Linked DNA regions of Homo sapiens: region 2 is linked to region 1. The links are contacts of gene promoters, found by promoter capture Hi-C in blood cells and fetal thymus (Javierre and others, 2016). All regions are on one chromosome and are shown on one strand. Each heading gives the region's core, a stretch centred on a gene start or on the middle of the fragment in contact. The rest is flanking DNA. Distances are from core to core; before and after follow the strand shown.

Evidence for each region. The method cuts DNA at HindIII sites, captures the fragments that hold promoters and counts their contacts. A CHiCAGO score of 5 or more calls a contact.
Region 2: the fragment with the promoter of KRTAP22-2 here is called in contact with the fragment with the promoter of KRTAP20-3 in region 1 in 6 of 17 cell types (neutrophils, total B cells, naive B cells and 3 more); the score reaches 11.4 in neutrophils.

What each region holds. Positions count from the first base shown.
Region 1 is chr21:30,640,990-30,645,820 of GRCh38, reverse strand. It overlaps KRTAP20-3 (keratin associated protein 20-3), which reads right to left and starts at 2,957. Exons shown (of 1, transcript NM_001128077.1): 1 at 2,685-2,957. The coding sequence starts at 2,932. The coding sequence ends at 2,798. The HindIII fragment of the contact is 10,269 bases long and covers 1-4,831 here.
Region 2 is chr21:30,588,438-30,593,268 of GRCh38, reverse strand. KRTAP22-2 (keratin associated protein 22-2) reads left to right here and starts at 2,872. Exons shown (of 1, transcript NM_001164434.1): 1 at 2,872-3,164. The coding sequence starts at 2,895. The coding sequence ends at 3,032. KRTAP6-3 (keratin associated protein 6-3) reads right to left here and starts at 829. Exons shown (of 1, transcript NM_001433434.1): 1 at 214-829. The coding sequence starts at 802. The coding sequence ends at 491. The HindIII fragment of the contact is 4,540 bases long and covers 2,563-4,831 here.

The sequences.
Region 1 (4,831 bases), core at 1,708-4,207:
TACTCAAAATTGCTGCTCCCATGGCAATCATGTGGATGGAGTTTAGGGTCCATACCAACACATGGAGGACTGGAGAGACTCTCCCATACCTAAGCACTAAGGCCTCTGTTGCTTTACTGTGATTGCATTTATGATATTTTGTCAACCCCTCTTGATGTTAACCTTTGTGAAGGCAGGGAACATGCCAATACTACTGACCGTGTAATTGTCAGCATCTAGCTCAGCGTCAGAATTTACGTTATTACTCTAGAAATCCTTTCTGAAAAAATCCATGTTTGAAGAGAGGAAGATTAAGAAGTTTCTCTTCCCAGAAAGTTGGTGGGCCCTTGATTTTCCTGCCATGACTCCCTTTTCATTTCCTTTTTAACTTTTATCTGCTCCTTCCCTGATTTGCAAACACCTTTTTTTTTAATTCACCTATAATTATTGGAATACTCTATGATATGGTTTGGCCTTGTTCCCCCTCCCCAAATCTCATCTTGAATTGCAGTTCCCATAATCCTCAGGTGGCATGGGAGGGACCCAGAGAGAGGTAATTGAATCATGGGGTGGTTACCCTCATGCTGCTGTTCTCCTGAGAGCGAGTACTTTCTCACGACTTCTGATGGTTTTATAAGGGGATTTTCCCCCTTGTGCTCATTCTTCTCCTTCTTGCTGCCTTGTGAAGAAGGACGTGACTTCTTCCGCTTCTGCCATGATTGTAAGTTTCCTGAGGCCTCCCCAGGTATGTAGAACTGTCAGTTAATTAAACCTGTTTCCTTTATAAATTACCCAGTCTTGGATATTTCTTCAGATCAGAGTGAGAACGGACTAATACACTGTATTTCTGAAGTTACGACGAACTTTATCCAATTATTTTCTATATTTAAAACTCAGTTTTCTCCTGAGTTGTAGATTTTTGTAACAACCTGCCAGGAAAAATCTTTATTTGGCCCTCCCACAGATGACATTTACGTGTACTCAAGTAAACTTTTGCGGCTCCACTTTGATTGTCCCCCAAATGTTCCGATTCCCGTATCACATGTGCCATTAGTTCCACAGTCAGTCGTTGACTGTTCAAGTCCTTGTTTATTTTGTGCTCTGTTTTATTCCTTAGCCCCCTCCATTCTCATACCACATGGGCATGTTCTTTAACTTCTATCCCATAATAATCTATTTGATCTAGGCCTTCATAGGAATCTTAGTTGCCGCTTTTACATTAAGACCTTGCATTGGCTGCTTACACAGCCTCCAGAATGGTCGTTTGGTCTGTGGTCATACTCCTTGGCCACCTTTCCTTCAATTGGATGCCATAATTATTTGTATAAAACATGCGCTTCTTATTTTTATTTTATTTTTCCATGAGTTATTGGGGTACAGTTGGTATTTGATTACATGAGTAGGTTCTTTAGTGGTGATTTGTGAGATTTTGGTGCACCTGTCACCCAAGCAGTATACACTGCACCATATTTGTAGTCTTTTATCCCTCACCTCCTTCTCACCCTTCCCCCCACATTCCCAAAGTCCATTGTATCATTCTTATACTTTTGCATCCTCATAGTTTAGCTCCCACATATCAGTGAGAACATACGATGTTTGGTTTTCCATTCCTGAGTTACTTCACTTAGAATAATAGTTTCCAATCTCATCCAGGTAAAGGAAAATATTACAACTTTATAAAACATTATCCAGTACACCCATTGCAAAATATATATGGCCTTGATGTTCTAGTTTCTCTTCACTGCCCAGGGCTTCATTTCCTGCCAGTGACTTTGCCCACTGTTCTCTCAAGAAATAACATCAATTTATGACTTTGCAGTGCAATACTTTTTTCATGGCTTTGCATATTTGTTTCCCCTGCCTGGCATACACTTTACCTCCAATGTATTTTTCGTTGGTTAAAAATTTATTCAAATGTAACCTTCAATGAGAATATTTTTGATCTGTTTGCTCTACAATCTCGCTCTTTTGCATCCAAACATGAGCTTCTCCTCTGTGTTCCTACGTGGCTATTACATCACCTATCATGTTGTAGCATACATGTTTATTTAAACATTTGTTTTTCTGCTTAAAAACTCTTCTCCCATAAGTAACACTAAGACTTAACAGGAAGCCCTATATAGAAATTACTTAATGAGGACTTATTAAACAAGTGAGTAATTAATAAATTTAAAAAATGAATGACATTGGCCTGGCCAAAGTAAGTTTAATTAAAAATAAACCTAGAGCTCCCTACTCCTGAAACATATCAAAAAGTAATTTGCTTGGTAAATTATGAAAACACATCAGTTTGGAAGAGAAAAATGTAGTTAATCTGGGGCACTGATGTGGATTTAGTGTGAATTTAATGATGTGTGTTCTTTGCCTAGAATTAGATTGAATAACTAAGCATTATTTTTGTTTTTTTGAGATGGAATCTCATTTTGTTGCTCAGGCTGGAGTGCAGTGGTGCCATCTCGGCTGACTGCAACCTCTGCCTTTGGGTTCAAGTGATCCTCCTGCCTCAGCCTCCCCAGTAGCTGGGGCTACAGGCACCCACCACCACACCTGGCTATTTTTTTAACTTTTAGTAGAGATGGGATTTTGCCATGTTGGCCAGGCTGGTCTCGAACTCCTAACCCCAGGTGATCCACCCGCCTCGGCCTCCTAAAGTGCTGGGATTATAGGGAATCATTAAGAATTCTAATTGGGTTAAACAAATTAAAAAAAGTGTAGTAGAACAGCACCCCTGTCTCATAAGAAAATGGACCCAATTGTAGATATTATTCAGTCAGTGCCTGATAATAAGCATGTAGCATAATCATATTGGTGGCAGCAGTCAAATCCATACCCCACCACAGCCACATCTGTAGCCACAGTCCAGGATTCTAAAGGCACCAAAGCCAGAGGTATAACTATATTTACAGTCATAGCCATAGCCCAGTCCTCCGTAGTAGTTGCCATAGTAGCTCATTGTGTCAGGATTTAAGTCTCTAGCCTGAGAGGCCAGCATAAGTTTTAGTGCATAAAAACACTAAAATACTGGGTCTTTTATCAGTCTCAGTGGAGGTGTGACAAACCACAGGCACTCCTGACATTGTCATATAGACCAACCTGTATTTAAAAATCTCATTAATCTTGTATCTTTAGATTTTAAAAAAAGACTCCCTATCCTGATAAAATTGAGATTTTCTTCTCAGTATGTTATGATCCTGCCAAACAGCTGATAGACTTTAAAGGAAAAAAAAATACTGAGTTCCATGACCTTACTCACACTGATGCCGAATTTAACCTTTGTAGCTATGTTGGATGACATCACGTGGAGGAGGCAAATGCCATCCTCTTCCGATCACTTTGCTAATAATACCCTTCTTCTTATATGCATATTTAAATCTTAATCAACACAGCTGTGATGTTATCGCTATAAAACTTAGTAGCAAATACAGTGGACTCTTGAATACCATGAGTTTGAACTGCACAGATACGCTTATATTAAGCAGATTTTCTTCACCTCTGCCACTCCGGCAGCAAGACCAACCCCTCCTCCTCCTTCTCCTCCTCAACCTACTCAACATGAAGACAATAAGGCTGAAGACCTTTATGATGATCCACTTCCACTTAGTGAATAGTAAATCCATTTTCTCTTTTTCTTTATTTTCTTAATAAAATTTTCTTTTCTTTAGCCTACTTTATTATAGGAGTATAATCTCTCATTACAGGTAACATAAGCATGTATTAATCAACTGTTTATGTTATTGGTAAGGCTTCTGGTCAACAGTAGGCTATTAGTAGTTAAGTTTTTGGGGAGTCAAAAGTTATACTCAGATTTTCAACTGCGTGGAGGTTGGCACTCCTAATCCCTGCATTGTTCAAGGATCAACTGTGATTTATTCTGTACAAACTCCCACCAATCACATATTATTCTGTAGTTTTCCTATTGCTATGCTCTCTTAAAAGTAGTGCCCTTTTCTTGCCTGTTTAGTTCCTTCTTCTCCACACCTTAAGCATTCTTTAAAAAGTTGTTTGGTTGATTATCTTGTACCTGCACTGCAATGTAGATATGTTTCTTCGGAGAAAAGAAAAGCATTGAGAATCTTATCTGATTCCAAAGTCACAGGAACGTAAAGTAGACATTTTTGAGACCCAAATATAACAGAAGGCATGACTATTAATTTTTCTGTAGGGATATTGACTCTGTCTGTATCATGTACTTATATGTAGACTTAAGTTCTCAAAGGCAGGCTGAATCTAGATACTATCATTTCTTAAGATGATTAAAAATAATTGAAAATTTTCCTTCACCACTGACCTTTAGGGTAATCCCCGATTTGATCTGTTGTACTTCAGTCATCCACTTTTAGGCAGTGCTACCATATTGGCAGAACCATCTATAATCCAGGACTAATTTTTCCTTCTCCAACTGGAAAATCAGCATAAATTCATAGGTGTATGTTGAGAAAGAAGAGACAACTCAGCAGAGAGGAAACCATGAGAATCCAAGCCAATTGCTTCTGTAAGTTGTTTGTGCTTTCACAACTCCCTTAAGCCCAACCTTATGTTCCCCACCTTCACTTGATGACAGAGAGCTGGTGTGTATGCTCAACTTTCTGAATAAGAGGGCTAGAAAATTTGGGCTGAGATGATGGGGTTTTCTAGATATACAATCACGTCATCTGCAAACAGGGAACATTTGACTTCCTCTTTTCCTAACTGAATACCCTTTATTTCCTTTTCCTGCCTGATTGCCTTGGCCAGAACTTCCAACACTATGTTAAATAGGAGTGGTGAGAGAGGGCATCCCTCTCTTGTGCCAGTTTTCAAAGGGAATGCTTCCAGTTTTTGCCCATTCAGTATGATATTGGCTGTGGGTTTG
Region 2 (4,831 bases), core at 1,623-4,122, 52 kb after region 1:
GGGGGGTGGTAAGGGTTGAAAAACTACCTTTCACATATTACCTCAGTGGCATGCAATTCACCCATGTAACAAATATACACATATAACCCTTGAACCTAAAATAAGAGTTGAAAAAAATAACGATAAAAGCAAAAAATCAAAGAAAAAAATTTTGGACAATAAATAAGATACAAACACCAAGATTTCTCTTGTGGATTAAATGTGTTTATTAGGTCAGCAGAGAAACAAACTACAGCATGAAAGTCATCAAAGGAGTCACTGTGACACCATCATCCTGATAAAAGGAGAAGTGACAGGTGAACTTCACCTTATCCCACTTCATGATGGAAACTCAGGGTATTTTTGGGTTAGATGGTAGATCAACAACAGATCATATTAGACTTCCACTGCAGGATATCATCAATCAAGGGAAAGGCTCAGAGCATGTGGGCTTCAGAATTGGTGAATTGCAATGTCACAGGATAGAGGGTGAGAGTCTCCCATGGTGTCCTCAATAGTAGTAGCCAAAGCTGGAGCCATAGCCAGAGCCGCACCTATAGCCACAGCCACAGAAGGAGTGGGAGACATAGCCATAGCCACAGCCATAGCCACAGTCCAGGCCTCTGTAGCCACAGCCACAGAAGGAGCCATAGCCACAGCCCAGGCCTCCATAGCCACAGTCCAGGCCTCCATAGCCAAAGCCCAGGCCTCCGTAGCCACAGCACCCATAGCCACAGCCGCCATAACCACAGCCCAGGCCTCCGTAGCCACAGCACCCATAGCCATGGCCACCATTGTAGTTTCTGTAGTAGCTGCCACACATGGTGTTGGTTGTTGAGGTCATCCTTGGGTAGGAAGGAGTGTAGGTGACTTCAGTATGGACACTTCTCCGCAGAGGGCCTTTTATATGCCTCAGTGAATCAGAACATAGCGTGCCCCTGCAAAAATATCTCTAAAGGCCTTTCATTGTGCTGAGAAGTTCTGGCCCTTACGTATCTCTCTGATTTCATATCCTGCTACTCTCCTCCATTTATCTATAATGCTCAAACTCTGCTGGCTTTTTGTCTTTTAAAATGCAGCAGGTTTCTTCTCACAATAAGGCCCTGGCCTCTGCACTTACTGATTTCTCTTTCTTAAAATAATACCAGGAATATTTGACTCATTTTCTATTTCAATTGAAATGTTCACTTCCCAGAGAGACTTTTAATGGCCACCTTATATTAATTAGTCTACCTCCAGTAACTGAACTTAATGTAACTCACTGAGTTTTATTATTCTCACAGGATTCTTCACTGTTAGAATCTATTTCATTCATTTTTAAAATCAGTCTCTCTATCCCTTCTGTCTCATTGTAACCTGCAGAAAGTAGAGACTTTGTCTATTTTGTTCATCTGCTCAATCTGCATTTCTTATAACGGTGCCTGATACAGCAGATTCTTAATAAAGATTTGATGAATTAGTGAAAAAATAACCAAATGAATGACATGATGCAACTTTCTATACTCAAATTCTGTGTAGAATAATCACAATCTTTGTTCTATGCTTGGGGTAACTGGGGATAAATTCATGTACTCTGGGATCCTTTTGGATCATATGCAAACCAGTGGAGGAATTTATCATGGTGATTTTTTTCTGGTTTGAGAATCCATGCCTTTTCCGATTGTTAAGGTGGTGGTATATATCCACTAAAGTTTATGAACTACTGTGTGCAGTTCCGAAATTCTGACTAAATGTTCTACTTGCCTCTTATTGATATGATACTTTGCCAGTCTCACATTGATCTACAAAGTATGATCCCTAGGTTGATCATTGGTAGTTCTGCTACATTTAAGAGTAGCAAATGAATTAATATGTACTATTATTTGTTTATATTTTATTCTAATTGCTTTATCATAATAAATGACTAATAATTCATTAATAATATTTAATAAGTGGATGGAATAAACGTGACAAATTATCACAGGGAGCTTCATAGAAAGTCAGCTCTCATAATTAAGGCTATCACCAGAATGCATTTGGGCCAGAAATGTGGTTTGCTGATGTTATTCTATCCAAGTCACCACTTTAAAAAATAGTAACAGGAATTCTGCTAGAAGATGAAAAGTATTTTTACAATACTTTTGGAAATTTGGAATTAATATATTTTAAAATAAGCAAATTCATTAAATATAAAAAGAAGGTAAAATATGTGAATATTATGTGTCAGGAGAGGAAAACATGAATTTTGAGATACGGTGGGTAATTGTTTCTAATTGCTTTCTCAGATGCAAAGAGAACACCACAACTAATAATATAACCAAAGTGAGGATGATGGAAGAGAAAAAACTTTACTACTCCAAGAACATAAGCTACATATGAACTTGGAAGAAAATTTTTAGTCCCATTGATTAAGAAATAAATTAGTCAAAACATACAGGCATATTTGCAAGTAAATAAAGACATTTTCATCGGCTTCCTCACTGCATAGCCAACCTTCCCTAACCATTCCTGGCCACTCTGTGGTTTAAGGACTGCATTTATGGAGGTAGAGGAGGATATTGAAAAAGAAAAAAGAAATGTTTCAAGAGGCAGGAAATATAAGCTTAATGTGATCACAGAGAAGCTAATCATCAAGTTTAAATTGGGATTTTAAGTAAGCAAAAGCCACAAAATTAAGAGAATATCTCCTTAAGGCTCATGATTTTACTTGTTGGCATCCTGACACATAGCAATATTAATATTTTCCTGGACATATGGCTAAGAGATTCTTGAGGGTTTTTTTAATCTTAATGCAAATTAGTTGTGAGAATGAGTCCAATGTAGATTGTGGTTTCCTTCACATATAACTCAGGTTGGATAAAATAATTTGTACAAATCAGGAGAGTCAAATTTCAGAAACTACTATCTGCCTCAATTGAACTCCATCTTCTGACACCATGTGCTACTACCACAACTATTATGGTAGCCTGGACTATGGTTGCAGCTATGGCTCTGAATATGGTAACTCTGGATATGCCTGCAACTTTCCGTGCTCCTATGGAAGATTCCTATTGGCTCCTAGAAAGAAATTCTGATTGCTGATCACTTTGAGCCATTTTCTTGTGATGCACTAATTGCATCAACAGGGTTATTTATGGATTCGTTATTGTCTCTCCAATTTTAACTAACTCTAATTATTGATTACCACAGGTCATATTTGCATTGGATTAGTGGAATTTCCTACCAGTTAGTGGGAAAATCCTTTGATATTTTGTTAGTTTTATGTGTTTATGTCTGTTATAATATTAACAATTTCCATGCAGGAAAACTTATAAATTTGCATTTTAATAAATATAATCACTTTCACAATATGTATTGCTTATCATATATATTCATTTCTCTTTATCATTTGTGTATTTGTGTGTGTGTGTGTGTGTGTGTGTGTGTGTGAAAGAGAGAGAGAGAGAGAAAGGGAGAAATAGAAAGAGAGAGTGAAATTGCTACCTGTGGCTATTTTAGTCAGTGATGTGACAAAACAGGCAACTCATGACTGATGTTTTTCCAAAAATGTTTGTATAAAAGTAATTTCAAGTTCAGTTTCAAGAATACTGTTCTCTATATTGATCTAATGCAAGTTTCATTTTAGAAAAATTCAATGTTTGACCTAGGTAATTGGCAAAACCAGTAGCACTATTACCCACCAAGCTATTTTCTACTGCAATTTTCTCTCTCCTAATAGTCTACATTTAAACATGTGCTTCTGTACTGATACAACTCCAGCCCTGCATTGAGTACTCTGACCTCTTTTCACTCACTCTTATAGATAAGAATCCTCTATATGAAGCTGGTTGGTATGCCTGATAATCCTGTGTTTCCACAGCAAAGATCACCTCATTTAGAGATCTAAGTGACTCTTTTGAGTTTTTCTAACTCTGATCATCTTCTAGCAGAATTCCTGTTACTATTTTTTAAAGTGGTGACTTGGATAGAATAACATCTTGCAAACCACATTTCTGGCCCAAATGCATTCTGGTGATAGGTCTTAATTATGAGAGCTGACTTTCTATGAAACTCCCTGTGATAATTTATCATGTTTATTCCATCCACTTATTAAATATTATTAATGATTAGTCATTAATTATGATAAAGCAATCAGAATAAAATATAAACAGATAATAGTACATATTAATTCATTTGCTACTCTTAAATGTAGCAGAACTACCAACGATCAACGTAGGGATCACACTTTATAGATCAATATGAGACTAGTGAAGTATCTCCCAGCCCCCAAGTGCAGGCTTTCTGAAAGCAAACGGAAGTGAAAATACTGTATTGCTGTCTATTCCTTCCTCCCTGGAGTGAAAAAGTCAATCCATTAGCAGTTCCAACCCAACTTGCCCAACCAGTGACTGGGCAGAGAAGTTGGTGATCATTCCTCTGGTGAAAAATGAAAATAAGAGGGAAGTGATTCCATTTTTACTAAGATATAGGTTGGGGCTCTGCTCATTATTTGCATAAATTATCCCATTTAATGGATTAACAAATTTAAAGGTTAAACATTTTAATTTCTATTGCAGTCATGCCAAATTAAATCAACTTTTAGAAAGGTAAAGCTGAAAGATTCTTGGTGAGATTGTGCAGGATTGAAAATTTGTGTTTAGTCCTGTACACAGTTCTGATTCTCAATACAAGTTAGTGCTCTAGAATGACGGAGGTTGCTATATTTTGTATAGTATTTCATAATTATTAACTTATTGTGCAAATGGGTATCAATGCTTTCATTATGGCAGTTTGGAACACCAGATTTAAAAATCAATAAAAAATTATGTATCAAAAATGAAACAACATGCATATCGGTACAAAATATACTCATCATATGTTGTTATTTATTTAG